Regions from separate parts of the Homo sapiens genome. Here region 1 is linked to region 2. The links are contacts of gene promoters, found by promoter capture Hi-C in human tissues and cell types (Jung and others, 2019). All regions are on one chromosome and are shown on one strand. The core of a region is centred on a gene start or on the middle of the fragment in contact, and the rest is flanking DNA. Distances in the headings are between cores, read along the strand shown.

Evidence for each region. The method cuts DNA at HindIII sites, captures the fragments that hold promoters and counts their contacts. A contact is called where the count stands out against the background at its distance.
Region 1: a fragment that was not itself captured here is called in contact with the fragment with the promoter of PSMC3 in region 2 in 3 of the 25 tissues and cell types used here (dorsolateral prefrontal cortex, liver and thymus).

What each region holds. Positions count from the first base shown.
Region 1 is chr11:47,533,964-47,538,768 of GRCh38, reverse strand. All of the region lies in intron 1 of CELF1 (CUGBP Elav-like family member 1), which reads left to right. Among named protein-coding and RNA genes, the nearest start is that of CELF1, 17 kb to the left of the region's middle. The HindIII fragment of the contact is 4,129 bases long and covers 710-4,805 here.
Region 2 is chr11:47,425,033-47,429,906 of GRCh38, reverse strand. It overlaps PSMC3 (proteasome 26S subunit, ATPase 3), which reads left to right and starts at 3,468. Exons shown (of 12, transcript NM_002804.5): 1 at 3,468-3,702; 2 at 3,957-4,040; 3 at 4,661-4,786. The coding sequence starts at 3,628. RefSeq lists silencers at 3,230-3,359, 3,630-3,841 and an enhancer at 3,460-3,659. The HindIII fragment of the contact is 16,812 bases long and covers 1-4,874 here.

The DNA.
Region 1 (4,805 bases), core at 1,525-4,024, 110 kb before region 2:
TTTTGGTTTGTTAGGTTGAAAGACTTTATTCCAGAGAAATGTAAACATTCCCTGTAATACTAATGAGCAGGAATTAAAAAGAGACAAGCTAGTTTTGAAATGGAGATTTTTTTTTTTTTTTTTTTTGAGACGGAGTCTTGCTCTTTTGCCCAGGCTGGAGTGCAGTGGCGCGATCTCGGCTCACTGCAAGCTCTGTCTCCCGGGTTCACGCCATTCTCCTGCCTCAGCCTCCCGAGTAGCTGGGAGTACAGGTGCCCACCACCATGCCTGGCTAATTTTTTGTATTTTTAGTAGAGACGGGGTTTCACCGTGTTGGCCAGGATGGTCTTGATCTACTGACCTCGTGATCTGCCCGCCTGGGCCTCCCAAAGTGCTGGGATTAGAGGCGTGAGCCACCACGCCCAGCCAAAATGGAGATTTATATACAACCTGGTACACAGCCAACATCAAGATTCTGTCTTCCATATATAGATAATGTAGGATAGAAAAAGCTAGAAGATATTATTTGATATCAGAGATCAAATGATGATTGCAAATATATCTAAACAATATTATGGGCCAGGCATGGTAGCTCATGCCTGCATTACCAGCACTTTAGGAGGCTGAGGCAAGAGGATTGCTTGAGGCCAGGAGTTTGAGACCAGCTTGGGCAAATACAGGGACTCTGTCTCTACAAATAAAATTATTTAGCCAGGCATGGTGGTGCACACCTGTAGTCCTAGCTATTTGGGAGGCTGAGGCAGGACTCAACTCCTTGAGCCCAGGAGGTTACAGAAAGCTATCATTGTGCCAATGTACTCCAGCCAGCCTGGGTGAAAAAGTGAAACACCTTTCTTTAAAAAAAAAAAAAGAAAAGAAAAAAAAGAAAACAAAATGATTATGCCTTTATGTGTTGTGTGTATCGTACTAAACCCAGTGCTGTGCATAGAGGAAATTTTACAGTCTATAGTGTTACATAAGTACTGGGGCCTTGCATAAAGTAGATATCTGGTAATTATTTGTTGACTACTCCATGTCTAGTCAAATGGCACTTTAATTTTATGTTTTGGAACAGTTCAGTATTAAGGATTAGTAATAGGAAAAAGACTTAACATTTTAATTCTGTGAATTTAAGTCATTGTCTTCTGAAGATGGAGTACTTTAAAAGCTCCAAGGAGTTATCTGGAAAAAAAATGTAAGCAGCTTTCCATCAAAAGACATTATGGTTAAGGTTTGTACTGTAGGCCTGGTGTGGTGGCTCACGCCTGTAATCCCAGCACATTGGGAGACTGAGTCGGGTGGATCACGAGGTCAGGAGATCGAGACCATCCTGGACAACATGGTGAAACCCCGTCTCTACTAAAAATAACAGAAATTTGTTGAATGTGGTGGTGTGTGCCTATAGTCTCAGCTACTCAGGAGGCTGAGGCAGGAGAATTGCTTGAATCCAGGAGGTGGAGGCTGCAGTGAGCCAAGATGGCGCCACTGCACTCTAGCCTGGGCGACAGAGTGAGACTCTGTCCCAAAAAAAAAAAAAAAAAAAATTTGTATGGTAAAAACCTTGTGGAGCTCTGATCTTGAAACTTCGTAATTTTTATTGCCTGAACAGTCAGAAGGCTCCTAGACAACTCTGATTTTGGCTCAGTTTTCAGTAGCTCCAAAGAATAAGAAAAGGATAATCTGATATTGCTGGCAGTCTGCACTCTTGCCTTTCTGGGCCAAGACATGCTTTTCCAAATAAAATCAAGGAAATAGTAAACCACTAGTAAAAATGAATAAAGCATCCAAGAGTTTGCCTCCTGTCATGTCCTGTTTTCTCCTTTTTGTTTCTAGGCTGTTTGATATTAAACTCATGTGCCAAAACTATACTGTGGACTTGTCCTTCCTACTTCCCCTTTCAAGCTGATGGGAAATAATTATGGAAAGACATTATGTTTATTATATATTCATTGTTTTTATTGCGTGCTATTTCTGTTTAATAGTCTCTGCATACATTTACAAGTGCAATTTTTATTTTTTATTATTATTTTTTGAAATGGAGTCTCACTCTGTCACGCAGGCTGGAGTGCAGTGGTGTGTTCTCAGCTCTGCAGCCCCCGCTTCCCAGGTTCAAGTAACTGCCTCAGCCTTCTGAGTAGCTGGGATTACAGGTGTGCACCACCACGCCCAGGTAATTTTTGTATTTTTTTTAGTAGTGACGGGTTTTCGCCATGTTGGCTAGGCTGACCTCCAACTCCACCTGACCTCAGGTAATCTGCTCACCTTGGCCTCCCAAAGTGCTGAGATTACAGGCATGAGCCACCACACCCGGCCTACAAATGCAGTTTTTTAAAAAGCTTTGCAAACCTCTTTACTGAGCTAATTTGGGTTATAGATAGCATTGGGAAACTATCTATCAGTCTGTCTATCTATCTATCTATTTATTTATGACAATCTCGCCTTGTCGCCCACGATGGAGTACAGTGGTGCAATGTTGGCTCACTGCAACCTCCGCCTCCCGGGTTCAAGTAATTCTCGTGCCTCAGTCTCCAGAAGAGCTACTACAGGCCGTTGGCACCATGCCCAGCTAATTTTTCTATTTTTAGTAGAGATGAGATTTTGCCATGTTGGCTAGGCTGGTCTCAAACTCTTGGCCTCAAGTGATTCACCTGCCTCAGCCTCCCAAAGTGCTGGGATTGCAGGCTTGAGCCACCATGCTGGCCAGAAACTATTTAAAAACAAACTCTTGGGCTGGGTGCAGTGGCTCATGCCTATAATCCCAGCACCTTGGGAGGCTGAGGCGGGCGGATCACAAGGTCAGGAGATCAAGACCATCCTGGCTAACACAGTGAAACCCTGTCTGTACTAAAAACAGAAAAAATTAGCTGGGCACGGTGGCACACGCCTGTAATCCCAGCTACTTGGGAGGCTGAGGCAGGAGGCTCGCTTGAACCCAGGAGGTGGAGATTGCAGTGAGCCGAGATTGCACCACTGCACTTCAGCCTGGGCGACAGAGCAAGACCCTATCTCAAGAAAAAAACAAAAACAAAAAAACTTGTGGGCATGCTACAGGAAAGCTTAGGTGAGTAAATATAGCAAAACAAGACATGATTTATTTTTTTTTTTTTTTTGAGATGGGGTTTCGCTCTTGTTGCCCAGGCTGGAGTGCAGTGGTGCAACCTTGGCTCACTGCAACCTCCACCTCCCCGGGTTCAAGCGATTCTCCTGCCTCAGCCTCCTGAGTAGCTGGGATTACAGGCATGCCCCACCATGCCCGGCTAATTTTCTATTTTTAGTAGAGACGGAGTTTCTCCATGTTGGTCAGGCTGGTCTCGAACTCCTGAACTCAACTGATCCGCCTGCCTCGGCCTCCCAAAGTGCTGGGATTACAGGTGTGAGCCATCTCGCCCAGCCCAAGACATAATATGTTTGTGGAGTATCTTAATAACTATTGCCTACGGTAGTTAATGGTATATCTTATCTCCATAGAACCATTTTTTTTTTCTTTTGGTTTGTGAATTTGTTGTATGAATTGGTTCTGAGTTTGGTTTTCAACACATTTAAATGGAATTTATATTTAGGTTTCAGTAGTTATTAGTGTGAGGGATACTCTTGAAATTTGTGCCAGGTACTTTTCTGGCTCAAACTATTATGGATCAGGCGTAGGGTAGCTGAAGTTCTAGATTATTACTGTGAAATCAAGTGCTGTTTTTGTTAATGTTCATTTGTCTGGTATAAGTTTGCTCTGGGGCTAAGCTAGATCTATGGAAAGACTTAACCCTTTTCCAGAAAGCTTCCAACTTAGGGAAAAAAATTTTTTTTTTTCTAATTCTGACTGTTCCACTTCTGAAAAAAACAGATCCACAGATCAGACTTGTAAATGATCTGTTTTCTTAAGATATCTTCTAACAGAATGGGTCTCCAGGGAACTGAGTGACAACACACATTTAGCTGGGAGTGGCAGTTCATCTCCCTAAACGTAATTTAACATCACATTTATCTACACACTACAGTTTTGGAGGCATACTTGGAGATTGAACTTATACTTCTCTTGGCTTATTTTATTTTATTTTATTTATTTTTGAGATGGAGTCTCGCTCTGTCGCCTAGGCTGGAGTGCAGTGGTGCGATCTCTGCATACTGCAAGCTCCACCTCCTGGGTTCACACCATTCTCCTGCCTCAGCCTCCCGAGTAGCTGGGACTACAGTTGCCCACCACCACGCCCGGCTAATTTTTTGTATGTTTTTAGTAGAGACAGGGTTTCACCATGTTAGCCAGGATGGTCTCGGTCTCCTTACCTTGTGATCTGTCTGCCTTGGCCTCCCAGAGTGCTGGGATTACAGGCATGAGCCATGGCGCCCGGCCAGCTTTATTTTTATAATTTTGTGTCTGATATATTTCTAACATAATTGTGTAGAGAAGCTGAGATTTCTTGAACTTTGGAAAACATTGAAATCTTGATAGAAAAAATACTAAATATGGCCAGGCGCCGTGGCTCATGCCTGTAATCCCAGCACTTTGGGAGGCCAAGGCGGGTGGATCACCTGAGGTCAGGAGTTCGAGACCAGCCTGGCCAATGTGGTGAAACCCCATCTCTACTAGAAATACAAAATATTAGCCGGGCATGGTGGCAGGCGCCTGTAATCTCAGCTACTTCGGAGGCTGAGGCAGGAGAGTAGTTTGAACTAAGGAGGCGGAGGTTGCAGTGAGCAGAGATTGTGTCACTGTACTTCAGCCTGGGCAACAAGAGTGAAACTCTATGTCCAAAAAAAAAAAAAAAAAAAAAAGGAAAGAAAAAATGCTAAATATAACTTATGTTGTGGTCTGGAAAGAAATAGCAGCATAC
Region 2 (4,874 bases), core at 2,219-4,718:
TTCTGGATATTTGTTTAAGGTAAAGTAATCCCAGCACTTTGGGAGGCCAAGACGGGTGGATCACCTGAGGTTAGGAGTTCAAGACCAGCCTGACCAACATGGAGAAACCCCACCTCTACTAAAAATACAAAATTAGCCAGGCATGGTGGTGCATGCCTGTAATCCCAGCTACTCGGGAGGCTGAGGCAGGAGAATTGCTTGAACCCAGGAGGTGGAGGTTGCAGTGAGCCCAGATCGTGCCACTGCACTCCAGCCTGGACAACAAGAGTGAAACTCTGTCTCAGAAAAAAAAAACCAAAAACACAAAAATTAGCTGGGTGTGGTGGTGTGCATCTGTAGTCCCAGCTACTCAGGAGGCTGAGGTGGGAGAATCACCACTGCACTCCAGCCTGGGTGACAGACTGAGACTCTGTCTCAAAACAAACAAACAAAAACAAAGAATGACTCCAGGGTTTTGGCCTGGTGGCTCTCACCCTAGCTTGATGCCAAGACAGAAACATCTGTTCTAGGCCTGGCCTAGACCTCTTCTCTCTAGAGGCCCAGATGGACCAGAGGTCCCTAATTCAGCCAACCTCTTTCTCCCTGAAGACATGCTCTGCTCCAGGTTCCCAGCTCCTTGCTGGGACTGACCTCCTGGTACTTCCTTGACCTTTTTGAGCAGAGTGAACCTTCATAAACTATTCTCCTTTTTCTCCCATCTCCCCAAGACATTCCTACTCCTGGGCTCCCAAGATAATCAATCCCTGTCATTCTAGCCAGGATTAAAGAAGGAGATGTTCAGGGCCGGGTGCAGTGGCTCACGCCTCTAATCCCAGCACTTTGGGAGGTGGAGGCGAGAGGATCATGAGGCGGTCGAGACCATCCTGGCCAACATGGTGACACCCCGTCTCTACTAAAATACAAAAATTAGCTGGGCTTGGTGGTGGGTGTCTGTAATCCCAGCTACTCAGGAGGCTGAGACAGGAGAATTGCTTGAACACAGGAGGCGGAGGTTGCAGTGAGCCAAGATCGCACCACTGAACTCAAGCCTGGGCGACAGAGCAAGACTTCGTCTCAAAAAAAAAAAAAAAAAAAAAAAAAGCAGGCCAAGGGCTTATACTTCAAAGGTGAAGGATAAATGAGGACCTGGATCATATATCTAGAGGGATGAGGTATCAGGGGTGGGGGGATTCCGTTAAACTGACTAGCAGGATTTTTGTGAAAACAGGGTTAGACAGGTTGATGACAGGGATGAAGGAACAGCCCACAAGGCCTAGTCAAAAAAAGATGGCTCAGGCCGGGCGCGGTGGCTCATGCCTGTAGTCCCAGCACTTTGGGAGGCCGAGGCGGGCGGATCACGAGGTCAGGAGATCGAGGCCATCCCGGCTAAAACGGTGAAACCCCGTCTCTACTAAAAATACAAAAAATTAGCCGGGCGTAGTGGCGGGCGCCTGTAGTCCCAGCTACTTGGGAGGCTGAGGCAGGAGAATGGCGTGAACCCGGGAGGCGGAGCTTGCAGTGAGCCGAGATCCCGCCACTGCACTCCAGCCTGGGCGACAGAGCGAAACTCCGTCTCAAAAAAAAAAAAAAAAAAAAAAAGATGGCTCAGAAGAGCCTACCTAAAAGTTGGTTAAGGGGAGAATGTCTGCATCCCTCCTAGGCCCAGGCTGGAGGCTTTCTAAACATATTCGTATTTGTCAGGATCTCCAAAAGTAGGCCCCAGAATGGGACCCAACTGACCCAGGCATAGTGGGACCAGCACAGATTGGACAGTCTTTCCCCTCTGGGCTTCTTGGCTCCTATCGGGCAACTCAAAGTGAGAATTTGGGGTCAGCAGTCCTAGTGCTGCCAGTGACTCACTGAATAACCTCCAGCAAGGCACTTAACCTCTCTGAGCCTCCCTATGCTTATTTAAATTTGAGAATGGTAATTCAGTCTGTCCACAAGGCAGGCTTGTTGAGAGAATGGAATAAAGCACTGTTACTTGAGGAGACGCTTTGTCAGCCTGAGTGAGCAGCTGTACATGTTGTTATTTAAAGAAAAAAATTCTGCTTTCAACCGTGTTCCAAAAAAAACTACTGCAAAGGCTAGGTGTAGTGGTTCATGCCTATAGTACCAACACTTTAGGAGGCTGAGGCAGGAAGATCACTTACGCCCAGGAGTTTGAGACCAGCCTGGTCAACATGGTGAAACCTTGTCTCTACTAAAAATACAAAAATTAGTTGGGCGTGGTGGTGGGTGCCTGTAATCCCAGCTACTTGAGAGGCTGAGGCAGGAGAATCCATTGAACCCGGGAGGCGGAGGTTGCGGTAGGGAGAGACCGCGCCACTGCATTCCAGCCTGGGCGACAGAGCGAGACTCCGTCTCAAAAAACAAAAAACAAACAAGCAAACAAAAAAAAGGCAACGATTGCACAGATTTTCATCAGGTTAACAGAGTGTTTGTGATGGTTTGACTTGAAATATAAGCTATGTTGCTTACATGAAGTTCCCTTTAAAGGGGCTCCAGGGCTCACCTCAAAGGATAAGGAGAGATCATTTAAAATAGCCGACAAGGGTACAACGAATGAGTCTCCCATGATCCGGAGACCCGCTCTGCTCACTGAGATTACTAACCATGGTCAGAGAAAACAAACAATTGCAGATACGAGACATAATTTTTTTTGAGACGGAGTCTCGCTCTGTCGCCCAGGCTGGAGTGCAGTGGCGCGATCACGGCTCACTGCAAGCTCCGCCTCCGAGGTTCATGCCATTCTCCTGGCTCAGCCCGGAGTAGCTGGGACTACGGGCGCCCACCACCACGCCCGGCTAATTTTTTGTATATTTAGTAGAGACGGGGTTTCACCGTGTTAGCCAGGATGGTCTCGATCTCCTGACCTCGTGATCCGCCCGCCTCGGCCTCCCAAAGTGCTGGGATTACAGGCGTGAGCCACCGCGCCCGGCCCGAGTCATAATGTTTTTAATCGTAGAGGCTGATGGTCAATTGAGTTCTTCCCACGTGGACAATTCCGTGAAGCCTGCTCTGACGTTAGGAGCAGCAGCGATTTCTCTTTAAAGCTGGTTAATGATTCCCTCCCGTAACTCCGGGTGGCCAGCTTGTACTTAAATAATTGTAAAAATGCGGACTGAGGTGGCATGCCTTTTTGGCCCTTTGCACACGGCTGGCCTATGTCGTTTATTAATTGGGAGGCAGTGTCATTGTGTAAATCCCCTTATTCCTAGCGGGGTCACGGTCTGAGTTTGAACGCGCCCCTCCGCAAGCATCTGTCACGGGCCAGATTAAAGACTACATTTCCCAAAGGCCCTCGCGGATCCCACCCTTCTCCCTCCCTTTCCGGTTTTACACATAGGCCCCGCCCCCAACGCGCGTGTCGGCCAATAGCGGCCCCACCTCTCGCGCCCGGCAAAAATAGGACGCGGGCGGGAACGTTTCGGGGTCCGCGGGGGCGGGGCCTGTGGCCAGGGGTTGGTCTTTGGAATCGGAGAGGCAGATTCGCTGCTCCGCAGCACGGCCGGAGCTGGTCGGGTCAAGAGTCGGGATTTGTGGGGAGAGGTTTTCCACTGGTCAAGAGAAGGCTTTAAGAAAGACGGTATTAATCTCCCGTTGCGGCTCCCGCCTGGTCCCATCTTCTGCCCGCTCCTCCAGGAAATGAATCTGCTGCCGAATATTGAGAGTCCAGTGACTCGGCAGGAGAAGATGGCGACCGTGTGGGATGAGGCCGAGGTGGGCACCGGGCGAGCTGGCGGTCCGGGAACCGGGGCCCGCAGGGAGACGCCATTGACAAGAGGGAAGGAGGTGGCTGGGGGTCAAGGTCTGGCCCGATCCCGGGGACGGGGTTGTTTGGGATGTGGGCAGGGGTCCTGACTCCATCCTGGTTTTATGGGCGTGGAAACTGAGGCTGTGAGTGGGTTCGGAGAACGAGGGATGCTTGTCCTGAGTAAAAGTAAATATATAAATAAACAAATAATTTTTTACAGCAAGATGGAATTGGGGAGGAGGTGCTCAAGATGTCCACGGAGGAGATCATCCAGCGCACACGGCTGCTGGACAGTGAGATCAAGGTGGGCGCACAGCTCCTGTGCGGGCGATGGAGCCCCCACAGGACAGGCCCCGGCGATCCGAGTCGCCTCTCGTACTTCCTAATCGGGCACCCTGGGGGAGACATGGGGCTCGGGCTTCCCCCTCATATCAGGAAGAGAGGAAAGAAAACTAAGCCTTAAAAGGGACAAGAAGACAGGTAGGGGGTGGTGGGAGGCCTGGGCTGAGATGAGAAGTTATCAGATTGCCTTTCCCAGTGAGAACTGGGAATAATCCTCTCAAGAATCCTTCTTTTAGTAAAATGCCTATTTTACAGATGAGGAGACAGGCCCAGAGAGGTTTGTACTGCGATAAAGCACCCAGTTCTTACTATGAGGCAGAACCTAAAACCTATGTTTGCCTCTCTCGGAGGCCTGCTTTTATTCCAATACTACCACTATTTCACCAGGAGGTTTCCAAACTGGCCTCCTCTTTTGACTTCTGCAGGATGTGGACACAGTCAGACTCTGCCTTCAGAGAGCCTCAGAGCTGGATGAATGGATGCGGGAGGGTCCCCTGGGCACCCTGGACCTCACTAGTTACAGGGCTCTAGCATAAGCTGTGCCAGGGTTTATATTTGCTTCTCCTCCCCTCCTGATCTCAGATCATGAAGAGTGAAGTGTTGAGAGTCACCCATGAGCTCCAAGCCATGAAGGACAAGATAAAAGAGAACAGTGAGAAAATCAAAGTGAACAAGACCCTGCCGTACCTTGTCTCCAACGTCATCGAGGTGTGTGTGTATGTGGAGGGGAAGAGAGGGAGTCAGCAGGGAATGGGGACAGCCTGGGGTGGGGCCACTAGGGAAAGAGTGGGTGGAG